Regions from separate parts of the Homo sapiens genome. Here all the other regions are linked to region 3. The links are contacts of gene promoters, found by promoter capture Hi-C in blood cells and fetal thymus (Javierre and others, 2016). All regions are on one chromosome and are shown on one strand. The core of a region is centred on a gene start or on the middle of the fragment in contact, and the rest is flanking DNA. Distances in the headings are between cores, read along the strand shown. Region 1 has its middle 16 kb from the start of CMC1. Region 2 overlaps NEK10 (NIMA related kinase 10). Region 3 holds the start of EOMES (eomesodermin). Region 4 overlaps NEK10 (NIMA related kinase 10). Region 5 has its middle 58 kb from the start of CMC1. Region 6 has its middle 76 kb from the start of CMC1. Region 7 has its middle 38 kb from the start of CMC1.

What was found. Contacts are between HindIII fragments. The CHiCAGO score rates a contact against its expected background, and 5 or more counts as called.
Region 1: a contact is called between a fragment that was not itself captured here and the fragment with the promoter of EOMES in region 3, in 12 of 17 cell types (total CD8 T cells, naive CD8 T cells, activated CD4 T cells and 9 more). The highest score is 27.1, in total CD8 T cells.
Region 2: a contact is called between a fragment that was not itself captured here and the fragment with the promoter of EOMES in region 3, in 3 of 17 cell types (M1 macrophages, M0 macrophages and monocytes). The highest score is 6.0, in M1 macrophages.
Region 4: a contact is called between a fragment that was not itself captured here and the fragment with the promoter of EOMES in region 3, in 1 of 17 cell types (M0 macrophages). The highest score is 6.6, in M0 macrophages.
Region 5: a fragment that was not itself captured here is called in contact with the fragment with the promoter of EOMES in region 3 in 6 of 17 cell types (naive CD8 T cells, naive CD4 T cells, non-activated CD4 T cells and 3 more); the score reaches 10.9 in naive CD8 T cells.
Region 6: a contact is called between a fragment that was not itself captured here and the fragment with the promoter of EOMES in region 3, in 7 of 17 cell types (naive CD8 T cells, total CD8 T cells, activated CD4 T cells and 4 more). The highest score is 20.5, in naive CD8 T cells.
Region 7: a contact is called between a fragment that was not itself captured here and the fragment with the promoter of EOMES in region 3, in 7 of 17 cell types (naive CD8 T cells, non-activated CD4 T cells, total CD8 T cells and 4 more). The highest score is 16.3, in naive CD8 T cells.

Annotation. Positions count from the first base shown.
Region 1 is chr3:28,224,018-28,228,217 of GRCh38, reverse strand. No RefSeq gene overlaps it. Among named protein-coding and RNA genes, the nearest start is that of CMC1, 16 kb to the left of the region's middle. The HindIII fragment of the contact is 9,028 bases long and covers 1-4,200 here.
Region 2 is chr3:27,296,630-27,300,439 of GRCh38, reverse strand. NEK10 (NIMA related kinase 10) reads left to right here. Exons shown (of 36, transcript NM_001394966.1): 14 at 3,200-3,261. Among named protein-coding and RNA genes, the nearest start is that of NEK10, 71 kb to the left of the region's middle. The HindIII fragment of the contact is 8,587 bases long and covers 1-3,810 here.
Region 3 is chr3:27,720,880-27,724,786 of GRCh38, reverse strand. EOMES (eomesodermin) reads left to right here and starts at 2,464. Exons shown (of 6, transcript NM_001278182.2): 1 at 2,464-3,373. The coding sequence starts at 2,493. RefSeq lists an enhancer at 1-283 and a silencer at 2,829-3,038. The HindIII fragment of the contact is 2,734 bases long and covers 1,483-3,907 here.
Region 4 is chr3:27,276,486-27,280,248 of GRCh38, reverse strand. All of the region lies in intron 22 of NEK10 (NIMA related kinase 10), which reads left to right. Among named protein-coding and RNA genes, the nearest start is that of NEK10, 91 kb to the left of the region's middle. The HindIII fragment of the contact is 934 bases long and covers 1,024-1,957 here.
Region 5 is chr3:28,181,620-28,185,436 of GRCh38, reverse strand. No RefSeq gene overlaps it. Among named protein-coding and RNA genes, the nearest start is that of CMC1, 58 kb to the left of the region's middle. The HindIII fragment of the contact is 1,392 bases long and covers 561-1,952 here.
Region 6 is chr3:28,163,789-28,168,091 of GRCh38, reverse strand. No RefSeq gene overlaps it. Among named protein-coding and RNA genes, the nearest start is that of CMC1, 76 kb to the left of the region's middle. The HindIII fragment of the contact is 1,212 bases long and covers 1,038-2,249 here.
Region 7 is chr3:28,201,032-28,205,322 of GRCh38, reverse strand. No RefSeq gene overlaps it. Among named protein-coding and RNA genes, the nearest start is that of CMC1, 38 kb to the left of the region's middle. The HindIII fragment of the contact is 3,335 bases long and covers 721-4,055 here.

The DNA of each region.
Region 1 (4,200 bases), core at 28-2,527, 500 kb before region 3:
CCAGTTTTCCCTTACTTTCTTAGGGTAGTCTAATGATAATCCCACACTGTGTTCGTATCAATGTTTTATATTAATGCTTTATTTAGATTGTTTTCAAGGCTTTCTCTTTCATTAGACTATGAGGTTTAACAATAGGGATCATACCTCACTTTTGTATTTCTGATGATTCACATACTGTCTGGAAAGAATAGGTCCTTGGCCTATATTACGTTAGTATTTAATTAAAAGTTAATTTAACTTAATTATTTGTAAAAGGGTTCAATCATGTATGAGATATATGATCACTCTGACATCTTCTAAAGTTCCTTTCACTCTGTTAGAATCTGACTAAAAACTCTACCAAGGAGCATTTCAACTCCTTTCAGCTACTGCGTTATTCATCAGCTCTTACATTCAACATGCCTATGCAGCTGACTTCTGTCCCAGGCTTTGCTGATCATTCTTTTGTCTAGCACTGTCCAGCCTTTTCTCTGGCTTATACCTTTGCTTCTTGAGGTTCAAACTAGGTTCTCTAGCTTTCCGTTCACTTGCCTCTTGGACCTCCACTTCCTACCAAAATAGCACAACCACTTTGCTTGATCTGATTTGGCTCATTGATTCCTGAATTTTGAAATCAGCTATAACCACTAGATGAATGCCTATCCAGCTACGGTTAGTGTCATCTGGAGGAAAGCCCCTGCTTGAGACTCCCTCCCTTCCCTCCTTTTTCCCTTTTCCCTAATGCTCTTCTTCAACACATTTTCCTGACCTTGATTTATTGTTGAATAATTCTTCAATTCATTTTTCGACTCATGGCTTGCAGGAGACAATAGGTATGGCTTTATATTTCTGGTTTAAGCTACTTATTACTCTGAAATCATAAAAGGGAAAAAAGTCTGGGCATACAAAAATAAATAAATAAATTTTAATCACAACCCACCTGTGAAATATTGCTAATGACAGCCTCTTCAACTTAGCATTAAGAGGGCAGCAGCAGATGAGTTCTCAGAAAAGAAGAATAACTCAACTCTTCACTAATTATAGTGAAAGTGTTCCAATTATATAAATTGCTTGCCATGAAGATTGCATACATTATTTACTTTCAGGTTGAAATACACCTTATTGAACTAGTAGGTTATTTTTAATATGTAGGTCAGGTTTAAGTATAAATGATAGTATATTTCCCCTATAAGCTAAATAACTTAAAAACAACAAAGAAAAACTGTCAACTTCTAGTGAACTAGATGTTACTGATGACAGCTAAGCCACTGCATCATGTTTCAAACTACAAGTTTTAACTGTACTTGGACCAAATAAATTCACTTAGAAAGTCCTTACTCCCAGGTATTATGGTATTTCTCAGTTATATAGGGAGCTTAAGGTTCTTCCTTTCTTTCTTTCTCTTTTTTTTATTTTTTATTTATTAATTTTTTTTTGAGAAAGGCTCTCACTCTGTCGCTCAGGCTAGAGGCTAGTGGTATGAACATCACTTACTGCAGCCTTGACCTCCTGGGCACAAGCAATTCTCCAACCTCAACCTCCTGATTAACTGGGATTACAGGCATGCACCACCACCAAGCCTGGGCTTTTTGAAAACCTTTTTGTTCCTCTGAACTAGACTCACCTACTTCTACCATGAATTCTGTTTTTGTTTGTTTGTTTTCGTGTTTTGTTTTTTACTCTCTGAGTCACCCTTTTTCATTTTTAAACATTGACCATTCTACTGTGTTTTATCTTGAGAAATTGGACCTTCTCTGTGGTCTTTCTCTTAGATTGATTCATCTTGGGGACTGCAACTGTTGCATTTTATGTGGAGGTTTCCCAAATAACACTAGAATTTTGATTTCTCTCAATTTTAAGTTTACATCTCTAGCTCTTTACTGAATAATTTAAATGTTGTATTGATACCTCAAATTTAGCACATTGAAAAAAGTCTTACTCTCTGTCATCCATATTTCTCTCAATATTCTCAACGCAACTCATATTTTAAACCTCAATTATCTTTGAACCTAAGTTCTGCACTTCACTCCCTAAATCCAAATCATGTTGCGTAACCTTCTCTAATACCATATATTTTTATTTTCTCACAGTCAATGTTTTTGTGCGGACCACACCCCTTTCCACTTGGACTATTTTTGTAGCCTCCCAACTATTTCAGACCTTTAGGCTTTCTTTCTCCAATTCCTTCTATGCCCAGCCAGATTAAACCCTTTAAACTCCTTTTTCATCTCATGATGTTATTACTTGCCAAAACCTTTCAATGATTCCAGATTTTCCAAACTTACAGGCCCAACAGGCCTACATGTGGCATAACTTTATTTTATAATCTTATTCCTTCTTACTTATCACTATCCTTCTGGACCCTCAATTTATTGCATTTACAGAAAGTTTCAGAAAAGTGGTGGCTCTTAAAAGGAAGAATGAAATAGCTCCAAAACATTTTTGAGATACTTTGTTTTCTTCCAGGACACTTCATCATGATTACATACCCCTTCTTTAAAGACCAACTATTTCCACAAATACAAAGTAGCACCATGTTGCCTACTAAGTCTCTCCATGTACATGTGAGGCATCTCAGTCTGTGTTCATGGCCCATAGCTGAGTTTGGTGACCATATACATTAAAGTAAAACAGTAGGAAGAAACTACAGGACTTAAAAGTGGAGTGGTACGTAGATCCTAAATGCCTTACCCAGTGGAAATGTAGTCTGTGACAAAGTCAAGCCTAGAACCCAGAATTCCTAATAGGCATTCTTGGGATCATTATAACTGGTTTGTGTATGTTTCATGCTGAGGAATTCCCATTTTTAAGCAATGGAATAAAACGATAGCTTGAGGCCAGGCACTGTGGCTCATGCCTGTAATCCCAGCACTTTGGGAAGCCAAGGTGGGCAGATCATTTGAAGTCAGGAGTTTGTGACCAGCCTGACCAACATAGTGAATCCCTGTCTCTACTAAAAATACAAAAATTAGCTGGGCATGGTGGCACCCACCTGCAATCCCAGCTACTTGGGAGGCTGAGGCTGGAGAATCACTAGAACCAAGGAGGCAGAGGTTGCAGTGAGCCAGGATCACGCCACTGCACTCCAGCCTGGATGATACAGTGAGACTCCAACTCAAAAAATAATAATAATAAATAAATAAAAATAATTTTAAAAGATAGTGTTACCACTTTGTTTAAGCTCATTTTTGTTGATATTAATAACAACAACAACAACAAAATAAACAGAAAGAAAAAAAGTACTTTGAAAGTCTGGATTTATTTGAATATGTAAATTCTCTATGTCTGTTGAAAACTACGCTCAATATTGAATAAGTCTTATATGTTAGACATTGGCATGGGAGTTGATGATAGAGTGGTGAATAAAACAGTGCTCCTGGCCCTAAGATGCTATGTCTACAAGTAAGATTTTAATTATTACAATAAAGTTGATAATCGGTTATACTGTTTGGCTGTGCCCCGACCCAAACCTCATCTTGAATCATAACGCCCACAATTCCCACATGTTGTGGGAGGGACCTGGTGGGAGGTAATTGAATCATGGGGGCAGATCTTTCCCATGCTATTCTCATGATAGTGACTATGTCTCACAAGATCTGATGGTTTTAAAAAGGGGAGTTTCCCCACACATCTCTTGTCTGCCACCAGGTGAGATGTGTTTTTCACCTTCCACCATGATTGTGAAGCCTTCCCAGCCATGTAGAACTGTAAGTCCAATAACTACCTTTCTTTTATTAATTGCCCAGTCTTGGGTATGTCTTTATCAGCAGCGTGAAAATGGACTAATACAAGTGGGTAATGCCTTGTGGGGATAGGAGGCAATAACAGCACATAGTGCATAGGATAAATGCCTAATCCAGTTCAGTGATTGGGATGTGGCTAGGGGTGGACAGTTCAGAAAGGTTTTTAAGAGGAATTAACATTGAAAACGCAAGACCAACAGGAGCAAGTCAAGCTAAAAAGAACAGAAGAGAAAAATGTTCCAAACTGAGGAAAGTGTGCAAAGACTCTCAAGGAAAGAAGTCTTGGTAGGTTTGGAAAAGTCTGAGGAACTTCAATCTGGCTGATCAAGTGCAAGGGTAAAAGGCGAGGTTGCAAACACAGGAAGAGGTTAAAGTGGACCTCTTTACTTTATAGGCAAAATTAATGGGGTTGGCCTTGATCCTGACAGCAAAGGGAGGCCACTTAAATGTTAAGCAGTGAGATGATATGAAATTGTCT
Region 2 (3,810 bases), core at 1,116-3,615, 420 kb after region 3:
TTACAAAAGAAAGAGGTTTAATGGACTTACAGTTCCACATGGTTGGGGAAGCCTCACAATCATGGTGGAAGGCAAGGAGAAGCAAGTCACATCTTACGTGGATGATGGCAGGCAAGAGAGGGCTTGTGCAGGGAAACTCCATGCACTTTCAATGGTTTTACAAAAAAAACATTTTAAAAACAATCAGATCTCAAGTGAGACTCATTCACTATCATGAGAACAGCACAGGAAAGACCCACCCCCATAATTCAATCACCTCTCACTGGGTTCCTCCCATGACACATGAAAATTGTGGGAGTTACAATTCAAGATTGAGATTTGGGTGGGGACACAGTCAAACCATATCATTTTGCTCCCGGCCCCTCCCAAATCGTATGTCCTCACATTTCAAAACCAGTCATGCCTTCCCAACAGTCCCCCAAAGTCTTAACTCATTTCAGCATTAACTCAGAAGTCCACAGTCCAACATCTCATCTGAGACAAGGCAAGTCCCTTTTGCCTGTGAGCCTGTAAAATCAAAAGCAAGTCAGTTACTTCCTAGATACAATGGGGTACAGACATTGGATAAATACAGCTGTTCCAAATGGGAGAAATTGGCCAAAACAAAGGGGGGCTACAGGCCCCAAGCAAGTCCAGAATCCAGCAGGGCAGTCAAATCTTAAAGCTCCAAAATGATCTCCTTTGACTCCATGTCTTGCATCTGGGTCACGCTGATGCTATAAGTGGGTTCCCATGATCTTGGGCAGCTCCGCCCCTGTGGCTATGTGAGGTACAGCTTCCCTCTCGGCTGCTTTCATGGGTTGATGTTGAGTTTCTTTGGCTTTTCCAGGTACACTGTGCACACTTGTCAGTGGATCTGCCATTCTACTGGAGGACAGTGGCCTGCTTCTTACAGCTCCACTAGGCAGTACCCCAGCAGGGACTCTGTGTGGGGGCTCTGACCCCACATTTCCCTTCTGAACTGCCCTAGCAGATGTTCTCCATGAGAGCCCCGCCCCTGCAGCAAACTTCTGCCTGGGCATCCAGGCATTTCCATACATCCTCTGAAATCTAGGCAGAGGTTCCCAAACCCTAATTCTTGACTTTTGTGTACAAGCAGACTCAACACCACATGGAAGCTGCCAAGGCTTGGGGCTTCCACCCTCTGAAGCAACAGCCTAAGCTGTACCTTGGCCCCTTTTAGTCATGACTGAAGTGGCTGGGATGCAGGGCACCAAGTCCCTAGACTGCGCACAGCAGAGGGACCCTGGGTCCAGTCCATGAAACCGTTTTTCCCTCTGAAACCTCCAGGCCTGTGATGGGAGGGACTGCCACAAAGGTCTCTGACACACCCTGGAGAAATTTTCTCCATTGTTTTGGGGGTTAACATTTGGCTCCTCATTACTTATGCAAATTTCTGCAGCAGGCTTGAATTTCTTTTCAGAAAATTAGATTTTCTTTTCTATTGCATTGTCAGATGGCAAATTTTCCAAACTTTTATGCTGTGTTCCTCTTTTAAAACTCAATGCCTTTAATAGCATTCAAGTCACCCCTTGAATGCTTTGCTGCTTAGAAATTTCTTCTGCCAGGTACCCTAAATCATTTCTCTCAAGTTCAAAGTTCCACAGATCTCTAGGGCAGGGGCAAAATGCCACCAATCTCTTTGCTAAAACATAGCAAGAGTCACCTTGGCTCCAGTTACCAACAATTTCCTCATCTCCATCTGAGACCACCTCGGCCTGGATTTCATTGTCCATATCATTATCAGCATTTGGTCAAAGCCATTCAACAAGCCTCTAGGGAGTTCCAAACTTTCCCACATTTTCCTGTCTTCTTGTGAGCCCTCCAAATTGTTCCAAGCTCTGCTTGTTACCCAGTTCCAAAGTCACTTTCACAATTTCTGTTATCTTTTCAGCAAAGCCCGACTCTACTGGTACCAATTTACTCTATTAGTCCATTTTCATGCTGCTGATAAAGACATACCTGAGACTGGGCAATTTCCAAAAGAAAGGGGTTTAATGGACTTACAGTTCCACATGGCTGGGGAGGCCTCACAATCATGGCGGAAGGCAAGGAGGAGCAAGTCATATCTTAAGTGGATGGCAGCAGGCAAAGAGAGGGCTTGTGCAAGGAAACTCCCATTTTTAAAACCATCAGATCTTGTGAGACTCATTCACTATCACAAGAACAGTGCAGGAAAGACCCACCCCCATAATTCAATCACTTCACACCGGGTTCCTCCTATGACATGTGGGAATTGTGGGGATTACAATTCATGATGAGATTTGGGTGGGGACACAGCCAAACCATGTTAATACCTAAATAAAAATGGAAAAATAAAAATTAAAAACATAAACGGTTAAGAGTAGGGTCTGAGTTTTGGCTCCACCCTCATTGATGGCTATATGGCCTTGGGAAAGTTCCTTAATTTCTCCAAGCTCCAGTTTTGCTTATGTAAAATGGTGATGATAATCATGGTATCAATGATAGAAGATCATTGTGAGAATTATGTGGGAATATATGTAAAATCTTCAGCACAGTAAAATGGAATTATCCTTTATAGGAGCTCTGTGCTATAGAGTCTGGCATACTTCTGAGAGCACAAGTATCTCAGTGCAAAATACCACCAAAGGCTGCCACAGTGGCTGTCAGGAGGCAAGAGTGGTGCTGCTTAGGGCTGGGGATTTAACGTCTGGCAGACTGGGGCTGCACTCCTGGTCATTTCCACTTACTGGTTGTGTGGCCTAGTCTAGTAACTCTTTGAAACTGTTTTCTCACCAGTAACAGTGGTAATCACAGTGCATACTCTTATTATAAGGATTGAGTTGAATAATATATTTAAAGCATTCTTTTATTTATCAACCATTATAGATATATTTGTTGAGCACCTGCTAAGTGCCAGGCATGTTTTGGGCACTGGGGATTACAATGAAATGGACAGATGCAATACTTGCCTCCTGGTACGAAGAAAGTGCTCAATAAATGGTTGCAGTGGAATAGACACGCACATGAATTACATGGGGAGGAGAATTAGAAGCCATTACAAGTCAACTTCTTTTCTTCCAGAGCTGTGCCAAAAGGAAAATTAGTGTTTCTTGAGAAGTTACTTTGCTAATAAAAATAGCAAAATAATAAAAATACCCTGTGGAGTAAGAGTATTTATGTGATAGTATATTTATTGTAATGATGCACACTATGCATTTGATTGTTGTCATTCCAGCCTGCTGTGCTGCCCTCACTGAGCTGGTGCTCAATGACACCAATGCCCACCAGGTGGTTCAGGTGAGAGCACTCCTTCTCAAGGTCAGGTCTCCATAACCATTCATAATCAACTCACCTTGTGGTGCAGTCTGTATCCCAGAACATAGGTTTTGGGATTCCCATCATGTGATTTTAAAACTATTTTAACATTTCTCGTTTAACTAATAAAGTTCCACTTTATATTCTTCTCCTTCCTCCTTTAACTCATTTGACTTAAAAAGGACTGACATGTGGTTAATTGATGTTTCTTCATTATGTTATGTGCGGTCCCTTTTATTTTTTCTTTCTAAAAGGGATACTCTGAATTGCATTAATTCTGGGTGTATAGAATACCATAAGGTAAGGACAGCAATCATTTTGATTAAGACTATGCATCAGATTATTAAGTTAAAAATGATGATTGAGACACAGCAAACAAAATATTTATTGCCAAGAAACTGATTTTGCAAAGTATAATCCACTAATTAATCTACTATATGTACAGCTATATATACATGTTTGTGTGTGTATGTATATATACACATAAATATAAATTAATAGATCTATATTAATAAACATACACATGTATAT
Region 3 (3,907 bases), core at 1,215-3,714:
GCATTTTGAAGGGACGCCGAGGCCCGCTTCTTGCTTTGTTAAAGCGCAAAACTGTCATGTACCTTTGGCCACCCTAGCTCCAAATAACGTGAGATTAGGTCTCACATTAGGGAGATTTCTCATCCCTACTTTTGCCTTAGATATCTTGCAACTCAGGTAAAGGATAATGTGGAGGATCCTACGAATAGTAATCAGGACCCGCTAGCCCAGGGATAGATACGTCGTCCAAGCCGCCCAAGCTGCACGGCCTCTTTCTTTCCTTGAGCTCGCGTACCCCTCACGGGATCTTCACGTTGACAGTCATGAGGTATTCACAGAGCTATACTACTTGAACAATCAATGTTCTAGACTTCCTTGGGTCAAAATAACACTAAAGCAGGGGAGGAAGGCATGGACAATGTAGTGATCAAAACAGCCGTGCCAAACACTAACTATACTGATGACACAAAACGCAGGAAGCGCAGGGCAGAACGCGCTCAGTACCAGCTTTCTGGCGATCTGCTCCTGGCCACTCTGTCCCAGGACCTACAAGGCCACCGCCCCAGCCCACTAGTCTCAACTTGCCCCCTCCCCTGTGGCTGTGCCTTGACCCTGAAAATCTTCGCGCACTCCTGGGTTTCACCACCACACACACGCGAGCGCGCGAGCGCGCGAACACACACATCAAAAAAGAAAAAAAAAACCGTGATAAATGCCCTGGAGAGTCTAAGTGCATTAAGGACCTCGTTCTCGGAGACCCCAGACATGCCGATGTTGGTGCTGCTGTGGTTGGAAAACTGGGTTGGAAAGCTTCGCACTGTTCTACACTTGCGTGTGCGCACTCAGCAATCCTTTGGCCATCTCATCTGTTGTGGGCGAAGAGTTTCCCGTGTGATCGCGTTCGGTTGGGGAAGCAGAGTCCCGACATCTCAGCCGGAAAATGCGCTCCCGGAGCGATTACTGGCGGCGTCTGTAATTGCTTATTAACAGCGAATATTCAGGCTTCTCCTTATCCGCAACGAAACGTGCCCCCCGCTTCCGTAATAATGAAACGATAAAATATGACGGCCCCGCTCTTGAATCTATCTGAGGAAACGCAGCGAAGAAACAAGCAGCTGGAGTTTAATTCAATATCAAACTGATTATTTCACTAATTATTCTACCTTCTGTATTTGCCGCAGAGCAGAGGCGCAGGGAATCCTAACTGTGGGGCTGTTAGGGAAGCTTTGTTTCTTGGTGTCAGGCCTAACTGAAGATGGTGGTGAAGGGACGGAATCCGGGATCAGGAAAACTGAGCAGAAAGGATTTTAAATTGTGGGGAATAAAAGTGACTGTCTCCCCGAAAGCAGTTGTGTTGGCGTGAGTATGAAGTTGGTGTTAGCTCGCTTAGTTTCACTCTTGTCCTGTCCCCAGTACCCTGTCCAAGCTTCTGATTTAGAAGCTGAGAGCTTAGGTCCTCCAGGATGGCAATGTGCTCTGGCCGTCCCCGGAATCCCAAAAGCTTAGCGCGAGTTTCCTCTCTACAAACCTTTCCCACTGGGTAAAAGGATGGGAACAAACAAAAAGTGGTTCTGTGCGTTGAAGGCCAGGGAGTTTGCCTTCGACAAGAGGAAGGTGTGCTTTGAAGTTACAGCTTCCGACGAGGAAAGAGACTTCCTTGGGCCTGTCTCCAACTTGCCCCAGTTTCCCCAGCCTCCGGGACGGGCGCTTCCCTGCAAGCTATCAGCTTGAAGAGTCTTTCTCTCTCTGGCCTCTAAAATCTGCTCCAGCCATCTCATTCCTCCAGCGGAGGGCTGAGATGACTAATGCGCCAAGGGTGGACACCGCTATGGAGACCCCAAACTTTGTCCCCCTAAATTCCGGCGAAATTACAGACACCAGGATTGATTATCACAGCGGGACGCAGTCTCAAAAAAAAAAAAAAAAAAAAAAAAAAAAAAAGGAAAAGAAAGTCACAGGCGACTTGATCCAATTAGTAAATGCCTAATTGAATTAGTGTCACCTCCACCAGCCAATAGGAGGGTCTCCGGGCTGTGAGGCCGGGAAGCCCCTCCCTGGCCGCAAATATATAAAGCAGCTAGTGACAGCCCATAAGTTTCCAAGTGGTCAACTTGACCGATGCTTTGGCAATTGAAAAAGGGCAGAAAGGCGCGGGCTAGTGGGTGGATGGGGACAAAGATCTAAGTCACCTTCTTCCAGCGTGTGAGCCTGGGAGGAGGGTGGGGGTCCTGAGGAGCAAGAGGTACGAGGAAGGAAAAGGAGAGGGCTTCTGGGTTAGTTTCCACCTCCTGCTTTCCAACTCACGGCGCTTTCCTTCCGGAAAGGACGCTGGATTCAGGGCGCGCCAGTACGCGCAGTAGCGGCCCGCGAGTCGGCAGGTGGGTAGCCCCGGCGCGGGAGGAAGGGGAAGTTACCTTCCCCTCGGAAGAGGGCGCTGGCTCCCCCATCCTGCCTTTATAATAAGGCCACCGGAGGAGAGGAAGCAGCCAGCTGCCGTCTGCGCTTTGCAAAGCATGCAGTTAGGGGAGCAGCTCTTGGTGAGCTCAGTGAACCTGCCTGGCGCGCACTTCTACCCGCTGGAGAGTGCGCGAGGCGGCAGCGGCGGGAGCGCTGGCCACCTCCCCAGCGCGGCCCCCTCTCCTCAGAAGTTGGACTTAGACAAAGCGTCCAAGAAGTTTTCCGGCAGTCTCTCCTGCGAGGCGGTGAGCGGGGAGCCCGCAGCCGCCAGCGCAGGGGCCCCCGCGGCCATGCTTAGTGACACCGACGCCGGGGACGCATTTGCCAGCGCTGCGGCAGTGGCCAAGCCGGGGCCCCCGGACGGCCGCAAGGGCTCCCCCTGCGGGGAGGAGGAGCTGCCCTCCGCCGCTGCAGCCGCCGCCGCCGCCGCCGCCGCGGCTGCGGCCACTGCGCGCTACTCCATGGACAGCCTGAGCTCCGAGCGGTACTACCTCCAGTCCCCCGGTCCTCAGGGGTCGGAGCTGGCTGCGCCCTGCTCACTCTTCCCGTACCAGGCGGCGGCTGGGGCGCCCCACGGACCTGTGTACCCGGCTCCTAACGGGGCGCGCTACCCCTACGGCTCCATGCTGCCCCCCGGCGGCTTCCCCGCGGCTGTGTGCCCACCCGGGAGGGCGCAGTTCGGCCCAGGAGCCGGTGCGGGCAGTGGCGCGGGCGGTAGCAGCGGCGGGGGCGGCGGCCCGGGCACCTATCAGTACAGCCAGGGGGCTCCGCTCTACGGGCCGTACCCTGGAGCCGCAGCGGCGGGATCTTGCGGAGGACTGGGGGGCCTGGGGGTTCCAGGTTCTGGCTTCCGTGCCCACGTCTACCTGTGCAACCGGCCTCTGTGGCTCAAATTCCACCGCCACCAAACTGAGATGATCATTACGAAACAGGGCAGGTGAGCGCAGCGTGGAGGGGCCCCTGGGTTCGGGGATAAAGGGTGACGTGTGGTCCTGGGGAAGGTCCGGGATGAGGGAGCTGAACCCAGTTGTTCCGCGCGGTGCTTAGAGTGTTTCACCGCGCGCAATAAATCTCCGTAGACACCGCATCTCCAATGCGGTGTCCCTCTGTGTCAGTGCCCCGGCGGCTCTTGCAGGGTGCCAATGTTACGGCTGTACACCGCTTTTCCCTCCCATCATCCTCACCTGAACAGACCTGGAGGAGGCGGAAATGGAAATTAGGGCATGTCCACAAGCTGGATTCGTTAGATCCTCCTGCTCGGCGGTATGCTTGTGCATGCCTGCATGCCGGCAAGGAGCCACGGATAGGGAAGGCTCAAGAGCTGGCCACCTGAGCGCAGTAGATGGGCTCCCGCAGTTTTAGGCGCCAGGGTCTCCACGGGGCGTCTCCGGGAGGTGGGCATGAAGGCTAGAGCGCCGGCCTCGGAAGCTCGGTCGGAGTAGGTGGTTAGATCTGCCCTGGAGCCAGACCT
Region 4 (3,763 bases), core at 241-2,740, 440 kb after region 3:
GACACCATCTTCTACCTGCTTTCCATCTGCCACACATTTATTGGAATATCTCATCCTCTGTTGTTGCCAAGCCCATTCTCATTGTTCCTGTGGGTTAGTAACATTCCAAAGAATATCCCCTCTCCCAGCTTTTTTTTTTTTTTTTTTTTTTTTCCATTTTAGGGGGTTTGAGATTTAGAGGAGATAAAAACATATGGTCAATTCACCTTTTAACCCACAACACCCAGCCAATTTTTGTATTTTAGGAGAGACGGGGTTTCACCATGTTGGCCAGGATGGTCTCGATCTGTTGACCTCATGATCCGCCCGCCTCGGCCTCCCAAAGTGCTGGGATTACAGGCGTGAGCCACCGCGCTCGGCCTACTTCCAGATTTTAAGGCCGTTTAGCTTTAAGTGAAGCAGTATTTTCCTAGTGTCAAATAAAGAAGCAGCACAGGTTGGTGGCATACTGGTGAGGCTAGCAGCCTTCAGACACAGAAGCTAGTGAGCTCAGAATGGGATCCTAGCCTAGTCTAGTTTCTCTTCACTAAAGCAATTGTGTGGTTAGGGCATTCATGTACTCCCATTATTTTCAGTGACTATAAAATGATTTTATGACTGAAAAGATAATCCACAGAGATTTGATGTCATTCTTTAAAAAATACTTTAAATATAATAGTGCTGAAATATTTTTCAGTGTCTATCTCTATTGATATAATGTAAATATGTCCATTAGTCTCTTATCTTTAAGAGGGATTATGGTTAAATTAAAACCCTGCAGCATTAATTTAAAAGTAAGTGTATAAAATTTCCATATTTTAGGAAGTGGAATGCAGCTGCAATTAGTAGAGCCTGTGAGAATGGGCTGGCTGCTGTGGGTGTGAAAGCATGTCACCACAGAGGGGCAGCCTTGTTATGTTTTATTTTTCTCTTTGCTTGCGCTAGAAGGTTTATTTACTTCCAGAAAAGAAACACAGAATTGCCAAATGATGTTTAAGATGCATGAGACAAAGTGTACTGAAAATGTGATCAGAAAAAAAAGCTTTCAGAAAACTAAAATTTTCATCTTCTCATTTTTCTCAATATAGGTGAATTAAATGTTTTAAGATTGAGGTTGGTTTGCACTTATTTATAGTAAGCATGCTGGCAGGAGTTTGCTTTGATGAGGAAGCAGAATAGAAAGTACTCACATATTCTGCTATGCTTGGTTTTGCAAATGCTATATATTTTTAAGTCTAAATATATTTCCATTTGAAAGACTATCTTTTGATGGCATGTGCCATGACACATGTTCAGGTCTTGTTCTCCATTTATTTGCAGCCTTTGAAACCATCCAAGGAAACAGACCCCGATTCAGTGGTACATGGGGTGAGACACAGTCAACATTTGCCCTAAATACTGTCACTTGCCAAATAAGGTCCATATTGTGCCATCACATTACAAAATGACTCTTGAGGGAATTTGGTAAAACTGAACTTACCCTTGAACCCACCATTCCAGATTTCTTGACCTTTTCAAAAACCCTTATTTTAATGTAAACCTTCCATGTCCGCTTGCCTCCTCTGCTTTCAAATAAAAAAGGAAAAGAAAAAACAAAACTCATTTAATTATAGTTAATAGATTTCAGGCATGGACTTTAGTACATGACACAGAAGGTCACATGTTCATCTTGCAAACAAACAGGCTATGTGAATTTCTGTTTCTCAAGTGATATTTGGCACCTGCTCTGATGATAACAACAAGAAAAAACCTGATTCAGTGTAAAGTTTATCAAAGGCTCCAAGGCTCTTCAAATGTTATCACAGGTCAGGCATTGCTGGGATAGATATAAGATGAAAAGCCATGGTTTCTGCTCCCTGAGCTCACAGTCCTATGGGGAAAACGTCTGTTATTCACTCAGCAATTACCTTCCTAGCTGACACATCCTACAAGTGAGCACAGCAAGCATGAAGGACATAACCCCTGTCTTAATGAAGCTTATAATTCTGTTACAGAGTGATGAAGGCTAGAATGTATATGCAAAATACTGTAACATGTAATAAGTAACCTGAAATTCTCAACAGCTTAAAACAGTGGCAAAATACAGCCTAAAACAGTGGCAAAATACAGCCTGTGGGACAAATCAAGTTGTGACCTATTATTATATGTCCTGTGAGTTAAGACTGGTTTTTATATTTTTAAATGCTTGTTGAAAAAGGAAGAATACATGACAAAGACCATATTTGTTCCATTTAGGCAAAGCCTAAAATGTTTACTATCTGGTCTTTACAGAAAATTTTGTCTGCCTCTGACTTAACAAGACTCCTATCCTGCTAATGCTACATGTCCATTATGTGTCAATAAGGGAGCTTCCTCTGTACTTGCTTCTACATCCCAGAGGCAGGAAAGACAGAACATGGGAAACCATGCCGTGGCTCTTAAAACTTCTGTCCCAAAGTAACACATGTTACTTCTACTCAGATTTCATTGGTCAAAGAAAGTCAGGTGTAGCAGGATGTGGATGCATTCCTCCTCCGAGAGAATATGAGTGAATAGTTATATAGTCTATCACAGCTATATAAGCACTGGGGAAAATGTGACTAACTGTGCCTTAGGGATCTTTTGGTGCAGAGTTAAGCAGGAAGGGTAAGAGCAGTTAATGCAGAGGCATAGCACATGCAGAGGATAGAGACATGAAGGAGTATAGTGTGTCTAGGAACTATCAAGGTGTTTGATGTGGCAAGAGATGAAGGAGCCTTGGTGGGTGGGGAGCTTGGTCAAAGACTTATCCTCAGAGATTTTTCAGACTAGAAATTATATGATCAGATCTGGGAGGTAGAAGGATTATTAAAATGGCAGGTGAGGGAGCATGCTGGGGAAAGACTGGACCCAGATACTCAGTTTAGGACATGTATCAGTTAGGATATGTTCAGGTGCAAAAAGCCAGACTAACGATGGCTTAAACCATGAGGATATTTAGTTATCTCACAACAAGGGGTCTGAGAGTGAGTAGTTCCAGGGTGGGTTCAGCAGCTTAGGGTGATCTAGGCCTTTCTGTCCTTTCTTTCCAGTATCCCCAGCAGATTGACTTCTCCATATGTTTGTCATCTCATAGTCACAGGATGGTTGCCAGAGCTCCAGACATTATTACCAAATTCAAAGATGGGAGGCAAGGTGGCTGCTTGGGTAAAATCTAGAAAAAAAAATTGTCTTCTCCAAATGCTGTCTCATCTGCTTTTACTGTTAAAGAAAATCTTCCAAAGAAGGTCTCCATTAGCCTTCTTATATTGTGTTGACTGAAACCAAGTCATGTGACTACTCCTCATTGTAAGAGAGACTGTTGAGGTGAGCTTCCAGCCTCTATAGTTGGAGATGAGAAAGGGAGAGGATTTGGTTGATGGTTTTTGGAGAGCTGGCCCACAATGTTTGCCACTGAAGGCTCTTGCACTTTTGTCCAGGAAAGTCATGATGTGGGTTTTTCCAATGACAGAAGGAGAAGAGAATGTGAAAAAGGGGCTCAATTCAGCAGTTATTTGGGACCTAGAATTAAAAAGATTTGTCGGCCAGTTAATGAGATGTGAGGTATGAGAACAGTTGAGAAAGAGGCTGAGTTTGTGAAGATTGCTCTGCCATTGGCAGAGATTTAGGTGTAAGGTTTTGGACATGCTTAGTTAAAATCTAATTATGCTCTTCTTCTGGTTAAAATCCTTCAAGTAATTGCCTATAATATTTAAGATAAAGTTTAGTTTCCTTATGGCACCCAAAGCCCTTTCTTCGTAATCTCCTCCTTGCTCCTTGCTCTGAC
Region 5 (3,817 bases), core at 7-2,506, 460 kb before region 3:
GAGTTAGGAAAGAGGCACCGAACAGATCCTTTCTCACAGCCCTCAGAAGGAACCAACTCTGCCAACACCTTGATCTTAGACTTCTAGCCTCCAGAACTATGAGACAATAAATTTAGTTGTTTAAGCCACTTCGTTTGTGGTACTTTGTTATGGCAGCTCTAGAAAACTAATATAAGTGTCTATAATATCTTCATGGTGACTTACTAGAGCTAGTATATTTTTCTGAAAAAGGAGGCCCCTTGAGGTGTTGATGATTGTGGTCTAGTCTCTTGGCACCAGTGGTAAATCACACAGATTTGGGTTGCCTTATCCTAGTTGTAACAGTAAAGGAGACCATGCGAATGTATATTTCATCAACAGTCAGCCCTGTCTAGATTTTTCAGGACAAAAAATTCATATGGCCTGCAAAACATTATTGCAGTGATTGCTAGAGACCTTCAATAATTTTCTTCTTTCCGTATTATGAAACTATATAAAAGTTTCCTTTGGTGTGCCTGATTTTGACAATGGCAAATTGAATATTCAGAATGGTTAAGAAATTTGCCTAAGGTTAAAAAGCTTCTAACCAGTCAGGACACACATCTGGCTCTGTCTTTCTCCAATGACCGTGCTCTTTTTATTTTAAGTCTCCTGCCTTTTTATCCAGTGGAAGTTTTCTCTTTAAAATCTGACACTGATTTCTGTTTCATTAAAGCCAGTTATAGGCATCAGCTATTGTATGAGGCATTCTTACAGGATATAGGAGAATAGAGAAAGTAAACTCCAAAATTATTTCCAAATTCCAAGATTCTGGAGTTCTGTGAGAAATCAAAAAAGTTATTTGGGTATCTGGGCCTTAAACAGAATTAATGAAAGTGTAAGCTCTTAGCCTTGTCCTTCCTCCTTACAGAACGTTTTCAAATTGTAGCCAAAGCAACTTTTCTTTTTTTTTTTTTTTTTTATTGTACTTTAAGTTCTAGGGTACATGTGCACAACGTGCATGTTTGTTACATATGTATACATGTGCCATGTTGGTGTGCTGCACCCATTAATTCGACATTTACATTAGGTATATCTCCTAATGCTGTCCCTTCCCCCTCCCCCCACCCCACAACAGGCCCCAATGTGTAATGTTCCTCTTCCTGTGTCCAAGTGTTCTCATTGTTCAATTTCCACCTATGAGTGAGAATATGCAGTTTGTTTTTTTTGTCCTTGTGATAGTTTGCAGAGAATGATGGCTTCCAGCTTCATCTATCTCTCTACAAAGGACATGAACTCATCCTTTTTTATGGCTGCATAGTATTGCATGGTATATATGTGCCACATTTTCTTAATCCAGTCTATCATTGATGGACATTTGGGTTTGTTCCAAGTCTTTATTATTGTGAATAGTGCTGCAATAAACATACGTGTGCATGTGTCTTTATAGCAGCATGATTTGTAATCCTTTGGGTATATACCCAGTAATGGGATGGCTGAGTCAAATGATGTTTCTAGTTCTAGATCCTTGAGGAATCACCACCATATAATCATGTCATCTGCAAACAGGGACAATTTGACTTCCTCTTTTCCTAATTGAATACCCTTTATTTCTTTCTCCTGCCTGATTGCCCTGGCCAGAACTTCCAACACTATGTTGAATAGCAGTGGTGAGAGAGGGCATCCCTATCTTGTGCCAGTTTTCAAAGGGAATGCTTCCAGTTTTTGCCCATTCAGTATGATATTGGCTGTGGGTTAGTCATAAATAGCTCTTATTATTTTGAGATACGTCCCATCAATACCTAATTTATTGAGAGTTTTTAGCATGAAGCGCTGTTGAATTTTGTCAAAGGCCTTTTCTTCATCTATTGAGATAATCATGTGGTTTTTGTTTTTGATTCTGTTTCTATGCTGGATTACGTTTATTGATTTGTGTATGTTGAATTGGCCTTGCATCCCAGGGATGAAGCCCACTTGATCATGGTGGATAAGCTTTTTGATGTGCTGCTGGATTCGGTTTGCCAGTATTTTATTGAGGATTTTTGCATCAATGTTCATCAGGGATATTGGTCTAAAATTCTCATTTTTTGTTGTGTCTCTGCCAGACTTTGTTATCAGGATGATGCTGGCCCCATAAAATGAGTTAGGGAGGATTCCCTCTTTTTCTATTGATTGGAATAGTTTCAGAAGAAATGGTACCAGCTCCTCATTGTACCTCTGGTAGAATTTGGCTGTGAATCCATCTAGTCCTGGACATTTTTTTTGGTTGGTAAGCTATTAATTATTGTCTCAATTTCAGAGCCTGTTATTGGTCTATTCAAGGATTCCACTTCTTCCTGGTTTAGTCTTGGGAGGGTGTATGTGTACAGGAATTTATCCATTTCTTCTAGATTTTCTAGTTTATTTGCATAGAGGTATTTATAGTATTCCCTGATGGTAGTTTGTATTTCTGTGGGATCGGTAGTGATATCCCCTTTATCATTTTTTATTGTTTCTATTTGATTCTTCTCTCTTTGCTTCTTTATTAGTCTTGCTAGTGGTCTATCAATTTTGTTGATCTTTTCAAAAAACTAGCTCCTGGATTCATTGATTTTTTGAAGGGTGTTTTGTGTCTCTATCTCCTTCAGTTCTGCTCTGATCTTAGTTATTTCTTGCCTTCTGCTAGCTTTTGAATATGTTTGCTCTTGCTTCTCTAGTTCTTTTAATTGTGATGTTAGCGTGTCAATTTTAGATCTTTCCTGCTTTCTCTTGTGACATTTAGTGCTATAAATTTCCCTCTACACACTGCTTTAAATGTGTCCCAGAGATTCTGGTATGTTGTGTCTTTGTTCTCATTTCGGTTTCAAAGAACATCTTTATTTCTGCCTTCATTTCGTTTTGTACTCAGTAGTCATTTAGGAGCAGGTTGTTCAGTTTCCATGTAGTTGAGTGGTTTTGAGTGAGTTTTTTGGTGTACCTGAAAGTGACTGGGAGAATGGAACCAAGTTGGAAAACACTCTGCAGGATATTTTCCAGGAGAACTTCCCCAACCTAGCAAGGCAGGCCAACATTCAAATTCAGGAAATACAGAGAATGCCACAAAGATACTCCTCGAGAGGAGCAACTCCAAGACATATAATTGTCAGATTCACCAAAGTTGAAATGAAGGAAAAAATGTTAAGGGCAGCCAGAGAGAAAGGTCGGGTTACCCACAAAGGGAAGCCCATCAGACTAACAGCAGATCTCTGAGCAGAAACTCTACAAGCCAGAAGAGAGTGGGGTCCAATATTTAACATTCTTAAAGAAAAGAATTTTCAACCCAGAATTTCATATCCAGCCAAACTAAGCTTCATAAGTGAAGGAGAAATAAAATCCTCTACAGACAAGCAAATGCTGAGAGATTTTGTCACCACCAGGCCTGCCCTACAAGAGCTCCTGAAGGGAAGCACTAAACATGGAAAGGAACAACTGGCACCAGCCACTGCAAAAACATGCCAAATTGTAAAGACCATTGATGCTAGGAAGAAACTGCATCGAATAATGAGCAAAATAACCAGCTAACATCATAATGACAGGATGAAATTCACACATAACAATATTAACCTCAAATGTAAATGGGCTAAATGCTCCAATTAAAAGACACAGACTGGCAAATTGGATAAAGAGTCAAGACCCATCAGTGTGCTGTATTCAGGAGACCAATCTCATGTGCAGAGAAACACATAGGCTCAAAAGAAAGGGATGGAGGAAGATCTACCAAGCAAATGGAAAACAAAAAAAGGCAGGGGTTGCAATCCTAGTCTCTGATAAAACAGACTTTAAACCAACAAAGATCAAAAGAGACAAAGAAGGCCATTACATAATGGTAAAGGGATCAATT
Region 6 (4,303 bases), core at 394-2,893, 440 kb before region 3:
ATTTCTTTCAGACTGAGTGACCTACAGTGACAGGATTAAAATATTCTCCCTTTGCTTACCTCTGGAGATACTTTCAGTTACAATTTAGGACACTTTACAGCGATATTGTGACACTACAAATTGTAAATGACTTTCAGAGAACAGCCTTCAGCTTTTCAATGCCCCTGAGGTATGTGATCTTAAATTAATATACACTTTGTTGAATCTGATTGCTTAATTAGGACCCAGAATTCCTGTGATATCAGAAACTTCTTTTTTTTTCCTGACAAAAACTTCATAGTACAACAACGCATGATCAACACAATTTCATGATGAACAGTTCAAAATTGAAAGAGCCATTAAGACTTTTTTTGGGTTACTGTTAATATATAATTAAACACCGTGACAGATGCTCATCAAGCAAATCTCCAACAGAGATTTATTTATTTATTCATTCAAGCATCCTCTGAGTTTATAGTAATAAATCCAAGAAGGAAAAATTTTGAGAAAACAACCAAATGATCTAATAAAAGTGGTAAAATAAAGTTACACTAAAAAAAAGAAAAACCCGTATTAACCTTTGTTTTATGCCTACCTGTCCTCTTCTGCTTTTGGTGTGAAATCACCTATGGGTTGCATTCAGAAGCTTTGATACAGCATACTAAAATTTCTCAGTGAGCCTTTTTGTGATAGAAAATGTGAACTTCTGCATTTCTTTGACAAGCTTGCTTTTTTCAGAACTCAGATCCCATGTACATATTTATGCATGTCACTGTTAATAGTGCCTCACATTTATAGGGAAGGTTGCAGTATGGTCAGCCCTTGGCAAAAGTTCATATTGCCCTTTAACAGCATAGAATTGTTGCAGGAAAGGAGTTTCCAGCCCTATACACCATTTTTCAGCATGTTCTGAATCTTAGTGGAGCCACATGGCTAAACTCTGGCCAGTGGAAAGTGGATGGAAGTAGGGTATACCCCTTTCCAGACCTGTCCTATAATATCTCTGGACCATCCTTCTTGCTATCTTATCTTTAATCTGCTAGCTGAATGTCAAAGCTTAGGACCTTTTTGGAATGTATGTATAGAAGTTGGCAAGGCCTCTATCATCCTGATCCCTGAATTAGCGTGTGGAGCAGAGTGCCCCCTTCTCCTTCCCGTGATTAGACTTTACAGAAGCCAGAAATACACATTCATTTGAAATACATGTTTGTTTGTTTAAACCAATGAGATCTGGAGTTTTATTCATTACAGCAGCTTGCATTACCTTAAGAAAAATGAATATTTGGCCAGGCATGGTGGCTCACGCCTGTAATCCCAGCACTTTGGGAGGCCAAGGTGGGCAGATCACGAGGTTCAGGAGATTGAGACCATCCTGGCTAACACGGTGAAACCCCATCTTTACCAAAAACAAAAAAAATAGCCAGGTGTGGTGGCATGTGCCTGTAATCCCAGCTACTAGGGAGGCTGAGGCAGGAGAATTGCTTAAACCTGGGAGGTGGAGGTTGCAGCGAGCCGAGATCATGCCACTGCACTCCAGCCTGGGCGACAGAGCAAGACTCCCTCTCAAAAGAAAAAGAAAAAGAAAAGGAAAAAAGAAATATGAACATTCAGTATTGTGCACTTAGAAGACTTTCTGGCACATTGTGCACCATCAATGAACCAATGAAATCTTGCTCCCTGTAGAAGGGCAAAGAAAAATGCCATTTAAGTGCAATTCCTTGGTCTTCTAGAGGAGTCATTGTCAAACAGAACAGAGATTTTCTTAAAGGAAGAGCAGGAAAGACTGTGAAGTAGGTAATACTACTTGTTTATTTAATTTCACATGGTCAGTATTTTCTTACGTGACTTTGGAGATCGGGGGACAATGTAACACTAATTCCAGGTTATTGGGGAGTAGGAGGATTCATAAAATTAATCATTTAGACAGAAGCGATAGTACAGTTTCACAGAGAGGATATCATGGTAATTAGTACTAAAAAATGGCAAGTTGTCATGTCTGTGAGACAATGCTCGGTTACTACCCACATCATATAAGAAACAGTACAATACTTTTGCTTCTATGGCTGGTTGAGGAAAAGCAACCCTGTATGGACATTTATACATATTCTTACTGTAAAAATAAACACTATTATTTATGGAGAGTTTACTCTGTCACTATCCATGATTATTACAAAACCATTCGTTATCAATTGTAGTGTTCCACTTAGTCTAGCCAGATATATTTATTTAATTATGCCAGACACTTTCCCATACATTTTCTTCTTTAAGCTTTTATGTAATGTTATCTCCCATCTCACATGTGCAGTAATGAAGGCTCAGAGTTGTTGGTGAACTCATTTGCCCAAGGACAACCAGCTGTGTGCCCCCTCTACACTTTTCATTCTCTGCTCACTACTTTCTTCTATTCCTTGGTTTCCTAATATAATTGTGATTCTGAGAATTGTCCACCAAATCACCAAAAAACCGCTAGTTTAACATCAAAAGCAAACTCTCCGATAATTCAGGGCAGCACACTTGACAATAATGTGGGTTTGGAATAATTTCCTTGGAAAATTATTGGAAATACTTCACAAGTTCTCTCAAACTGGAAACAGCATCTCTGTTGTTATTGCTGTTTTTCTAACAATGAACTATTTTCCTTTAGGCATATATCTTTTCCTTATAACATTACATCTTAATTTTTTTCCTTTTTATTGAGGAGTTTACTAGACATTGCAAAGAGTTCACTGAGATCTGTATATAGCTAAAACTGTATTACCTTGAAATGTCTTTCTCCCTGGTAGGGACTGAGTCACAATTCCTTTCAGCATCATCTTTCAAAAACTAATTTTTTTATACCACAGGTTTTTCTCTAAAGGAACAGAGAGTAAACATTTTAGGCTGCTTGAGCAACAAGGTCTCTGTTGTAACTACTCAATTCTGTCATTGTGGCTGGGCGTGGTGGCTCACGCCTGTAATCCCAGCACTTTGGGAGGCCGAGGTAGCCAGATCACGAGGTCAGGAGATCTAGACCATCCTGGCTAACATGGTGAAACCCCATCTCTACTGAAAAATGCAAAAAATTAGCCGGGCGTGGTGGCAGGTGCCTGTAGTCCCAGCTACTCTGGAGGCTGAGGCAGGAGAATGGCGTGAACCCGGGAGGTGGAGCTTGCAATGAGCCGAGATCGCGCCACTGCACTCCAGCCTGGGCGACAGAGCGAGACTCCGTCTCAAAAAAAAAAAAAAAAAAAAAAAAAATTCTGTCATTGTAGTGCAAAAGCAGCTATAAACAATATGTAAGTGAATGACTGTGGCTTTTATTTCCTATTTATTTATACAAATTTATAGGATACGTGTGCGGTTTTGTTACATGCACAGATTGAGTAGTGGTCAAGTCAGGGCTTTTAGGGTATTAATCACCTGAATAATGTATTCTGTACCCATTAAGCAATTTCTCATCATCCTCCCCTCTTCCACCCTCCTCACGCTTCTAAGTCTCCGTTATCTATCATTCCACTCTCTACATCCATGTGAATACGTTTTTGAGCAAACATTTACGAATGAGAACATGCAATAGTTGTCTTTTTGTGTCTGGCTTATTTCACTTCGTATAACAACCACCAGTTCCATCCATGTGGCTGCAAAAGACATGATTTCATTACTTTAATGGCTGAATAGTATTCCATTGTGTATATATATATATACACATATACATATATATATATACACATATATACATATATTAAATGTATGCATATTTTACATTCTTACCAATACTGTATAAGAGTTTCCTTTTCTACACATCCTCACCAACACCTGTTATTTTTGTCTTTTTAATAATAGCCATTCTGATTGGAGTAAGATGATATCTCATTGTGGTTTTAATTTGCATTTCTCTGATGATTAGGGATGATGAGCAGTTTTCAAATAGTTGTTGGTTATTTGTATATCTTCTTTTGAAAAACATCTATCATGCCCTTTGCTCACTTTTTAATGGGAATAGTTGTGGGGGTTTTGCTCTTGTTGTTGAGTTTTTTGAGTTCCTTGTATATTCTGGATATTTGTCCCCGCTGGATGCAAAGTTTGCAAATATTTTCTCCCACTCAACATGTTGTCTCTTTACTCCATTGGTTATTTTGCTGTGCAGAGGTTTTTAGTTTAAGTCCCATTCGTCTGTTTTTATTTCTGTTGCCTGTGCTTTTGAGGTCTTAGTCATAAATTCTTCATCTCAACAAATGTACAGAAGAGTTTTTTCTAGGTTTTCTTCTAGTATTTGTTTAGTTTCAGGTCTTCATTTAAGTCTTTAATCCACCTTGAGTTGATATTTGTGTATAGTGAGAGGTAT
Region 7 (4,291 bases), core at 1,139-3,638, 480 kb before region 3:
CCTGAATATCCTTGTTAATTTTCTATCTCATTGATCTGTATAATATTGACAGTGGGGTGTTAAAGTCTCCCACTATTATTGTGTGGGAGCCTAAGTCTCTTTGTATGTCCCTAAGAACTTGGTTTATGAATCTGGGTGCTCCTGTATTGGGTGCATATATATTTAGACTAGTTAGCTCTTCTTGTTGAATGGATCCTTTTACCATTATGTAATGCCCTTCTTAGTCTTTTTTGATCTTTGTTGGCTTAAAATGTTTTGTCAGAGACTAGGATTGCAACCCCTCCTTTTTTTGTATTTCCATTTGCTTGGTAAATTGTCCTCTATCTCTTTATTTTGAGCCTATGTGTGTCTTTGCACATGAGATGGGTCTCCTGAATACAGCACACCAATGGGTCTTGACTCTTTATTCAATTTGCCAGTCTGTGTCTTTTAATTGTGGCATTTAGCCCATGTACATTTAAGGTAACTATTGTTATGCGTGAATTTGATCCTGTCATCATGGTGCTATCTGGTTATTTTGCCCATTAGTTGATGCAGTTTCTTCATAGTGTCATTGGTCTTTATATTTTGGTGTGTTTTTGCAGTGGCTGCTACTGGTTTTTCATTTTTTATATTTAGTGCTTTCTTCAGGAGCTTTTGGAAGGCAGGCCTGGTGGTGACAAAATTCCTTAGCATTTGCTTGTCTGGAAAGGATTTTATTTCTCCTTTGCTTATGAAGCTTAGTTTGGCTGAATATGAAATTCTGGATTGAAAATTCTTTTCCTTAGGAATGTTGAATATTGGCTCCCAATCTCTTCTGGTATGTAGGGTTTCTGCTGAGAGACCCACTGTTAGTCTGATGGGCTTTGCTTTGTAGGTGACCTGGCCTTTCTCTCTGGCTGCCCTTAACATTTTTTCCTTCATTTCGACCTTGGAGAATCTGATGATTATGTGTCTTGGGGTTGATCTTCTCATGGAGTCTCTTAGTGGTGTTCTCTGTATTTTCTGAATTTGCATGTTGGCCTGTCTTGCTAGGTTGGGGAAGTTCTCCTGGATAATATACTGAAGTGTGTTTTCCAGCTTGTAACCATTCTCCTTGTCTCCTTCAGGTACTCCAATCAATTGTAGGTTTGGTCTTTTTACATAGTCCCGTATTTCTTGCAGGCTTTGTTCATTCTTTTTCATTTTTTTTTTTCTAATCTTGTCTGCATGCCTTATTTTGGCAAGGTGGTCTTCAAACTCTGCTATCCTTTCTTCTGCTTGTTCAGTTCAGCTATTGATACTTGTGTATGCTTCACAAAATTCTTGTGCTGTGTTTTTCAGCTCCAAGAAGTCATTTATGTTCCTCTCTAAAGTGGTTATTCCAGTTAGCAGCTCCTCTTACATTTTATCAAAGTTCTTAGCTTGTTTTCATTGGGATAGAACATGCTCTTTTAGTTCAGTGGAGTTTTTAATTACCCATCTTCTGAAGCCTGCTTCTGTCAATTCATCCATCTCATCCTCCATCCAGTTCTGTGCCCTTGCTGGCCAGGTACTGAGATCTTTTGGAGGTGAAGAGTCTTTTGGGTTTTCAGCAGTTTTTCATTGATTCTCATCTTCATGAGTTTGTCAGTTTCGATCTTTAGGACTGATGACTCTTGGATGGGTTTTTTGTGGGGACGTTTTTGTTGTTGATGATGCTGTTGTTATTGCTTTCTGTTTGTTTGTTTTCCTTTCAATGGTCAGGTCCCTCTTCTGTAGGGCTGCCAAAATTTGCAGGGGGTTCACTTCAGGCCCTATTCGTCTGATTTGCTCCCACACCTGGAGATGTCACTCGAGGCTGGAGAAGAGCAAAGATGGGTGCCTTCCCCTTCTTCTGGAATCTCTGACCTTGAGAGGCACCAATCTGATGCCAGTAGGATTGTTCCTGTATAGGGTGTCTGACAACTCCTGTTGGAGGGTCTCACCCGGTCAGGTGGCATAGGGAACAGGACCTATTTAACGAAGCACTTTGACTGTCCCTTGGTGGAGGGAGTGTGTTTCTCTGGAGGGAACCCACTTGTCTGGGCTGCCTGGATTCCTCAGAACTACGAGGAGGAAAGGCTAAGTCTGCTGGTCCACAGAGACTGCAGCTGCCCCTCCCACTAGGGGCTCAGGCCCAGGGAGATAAGGGTTCTGTCCCTGAGCCTCTGGCTGGAGTTGTTAGATTTCTTGCAGGGAGGTCCATTCCAGTGTGGAAGGATGGGTCAGGGTCAGTCCTAAAGAGGCATTCTGGCCACAGTCTGCCACAGCTGGTATGTTGGGCTGTGGGGGACACCTCTTGGGACCAAGTTGTCCAGCCTCACTGGCTCCAACAGAGGAAAAGTGTGGCCTGGAGCTATAGAGATGCATGCTGCCTTTCCCCAGTGCAGGGAGCTTATCATGTTAGGTAGTTATGAGTCCCAGTGCTGGCTGCTGTCCCTTCCCCAAGAAGCTGAAATGGCTTAGAGAGCAGGAAGCCACAGATGTGGTACTGGTTGCCCCCTCCCCGCTGTGAACTCAGCAGGCTTAAGCATATTCTAGTTTAGAGGCTGTTGAGAATCTGCATGGCTCCAGAGTTGGGACCCTAGGCCCCAATGGCATGGGTTTGCAAGTGGGATCTTCTGATCCAGGGGTTACACAGTTCTATATAAAAAGCACAGTTTCCCTGGCTGGGTAGCATGCTCACTCACCACCTCCCTTAGCTGGGGGGTAAGGGCTCCCCTGACCTGTGTGGCTCTCAGGTGGGCTGCCACACCACACTGCTCTTTTTTCCTCTCTGTGGATCACAGCAGCTGCCTAATCATTCCTGTTGGGAGAACCTGGATACCTTGGTTGACAGTGCGGGATTCACACAGTATTATGGTTCTTTTCAATGGGAGCCTCTGATGGTCAGAGGCTGCTTCTAGTCAGCCATCTTGGCCCTGCCCTCCTAGGGTACCCTTGGTATATAGCATTGATTCTCGTTTGGAGGGCTAACCAGTTAGTTATAACAATAATCTTTACATGCCTTAGAGCTATCAAATCATTTTCAGATCCTATATTAATTACTTTGCTTATTTAATTATTCATTAAACAACACTTTATTGACTGCTTGTGATATTACTGTGTGAGATGCCTGGAATATAATGATGAGAAAAAAACATAATAGACTCTACCCTCATGGAAATTGTGGTCTGGTAGGTTACAAAGATATTAATTAAATAATCAAACAGTATTGTTGAGTATCATGAAGGGAAAGTATGGAATGCTTTGAAAATGTAACAGGGGCATTTCTTGGTGAGTTTATGTGATAAAGGTAGTGTCCTTGAGGAAGAGATATTTAGTCTTATTAGTCTAAAAGACTAGTAAGAGGGAAAATGAAGAGGGGAGATGGGTGAAATAGAGTGTTTTTGTTTCTATTGCTGCTGTAACAAATTATCACAAACGTAGTGGCATAAATGAATACAAATTTATTATCTTACAGTTATGGAGTTTAGATTCTAAAATGGATCAGCAGGGCTGCATTCTTTCTGGGGGCTCTAGGAGAGAATCTGTTTCCTTGTTTTTTCAGCTTCTAGAGACTGCTCACATCCCAGGGCTAAAGTCTCTCTTCTAGTGATGGCAACACTCTGACCACTACTTCTGTGATCATATCTTCTTTACTGACTCTAATTCTCCTGCCTCCCTCTCATAAGGACTCTGGTGGTTACATTGGCCCCACCTGAATAATCCAAGATAAACTTCCCATTTCAGGATGCTTAATCATATTTTAAAGTCCCTTTGTCACATGAAGTAACATAGTCACAGATTTTGAAGATTAGGACATGGACTTCTTTGCAGGCTATTATTATGTCTACTACAGAGTGGCAGGCAGAGGGGAAAGCATTGATCAAAATCCTGAAATTGAGGGAGCTTCTCTCACTGGAGAAACAGAATGAGGCCACTGTGACTGAAGCGTTAGAGCAAAGGAGCATTTATGGCAGATTGGCAGGACAGAAAGGCCAGGCTAAGTCTTACAGAAATCTGCAGGCTATTAATAAGATTTAGGTCTATAATTATCCTAGAGGTGCTTGGACACATCTCTATCAAGAAAAGCTTACCTAGGCTGAGGTGGGCAGATCACAAGGTCAGGAGATCAAGACCATCCTGGCCAACATGGTGAAACCCGGTCTCTACTGAAATACAAAAAAAATTAGCTGGGCGTGGTGGTGTGTGCTTGTAGTCCCAGCTACTCGGGAGGCTGAGGCAGGGGAATCGCTTGAACCCGGGAGGTGGAGGTTGCAGTGAGCCGAGATTGCACCGCTGCACTCCAGCCTGGTGACAGAGCAAGACT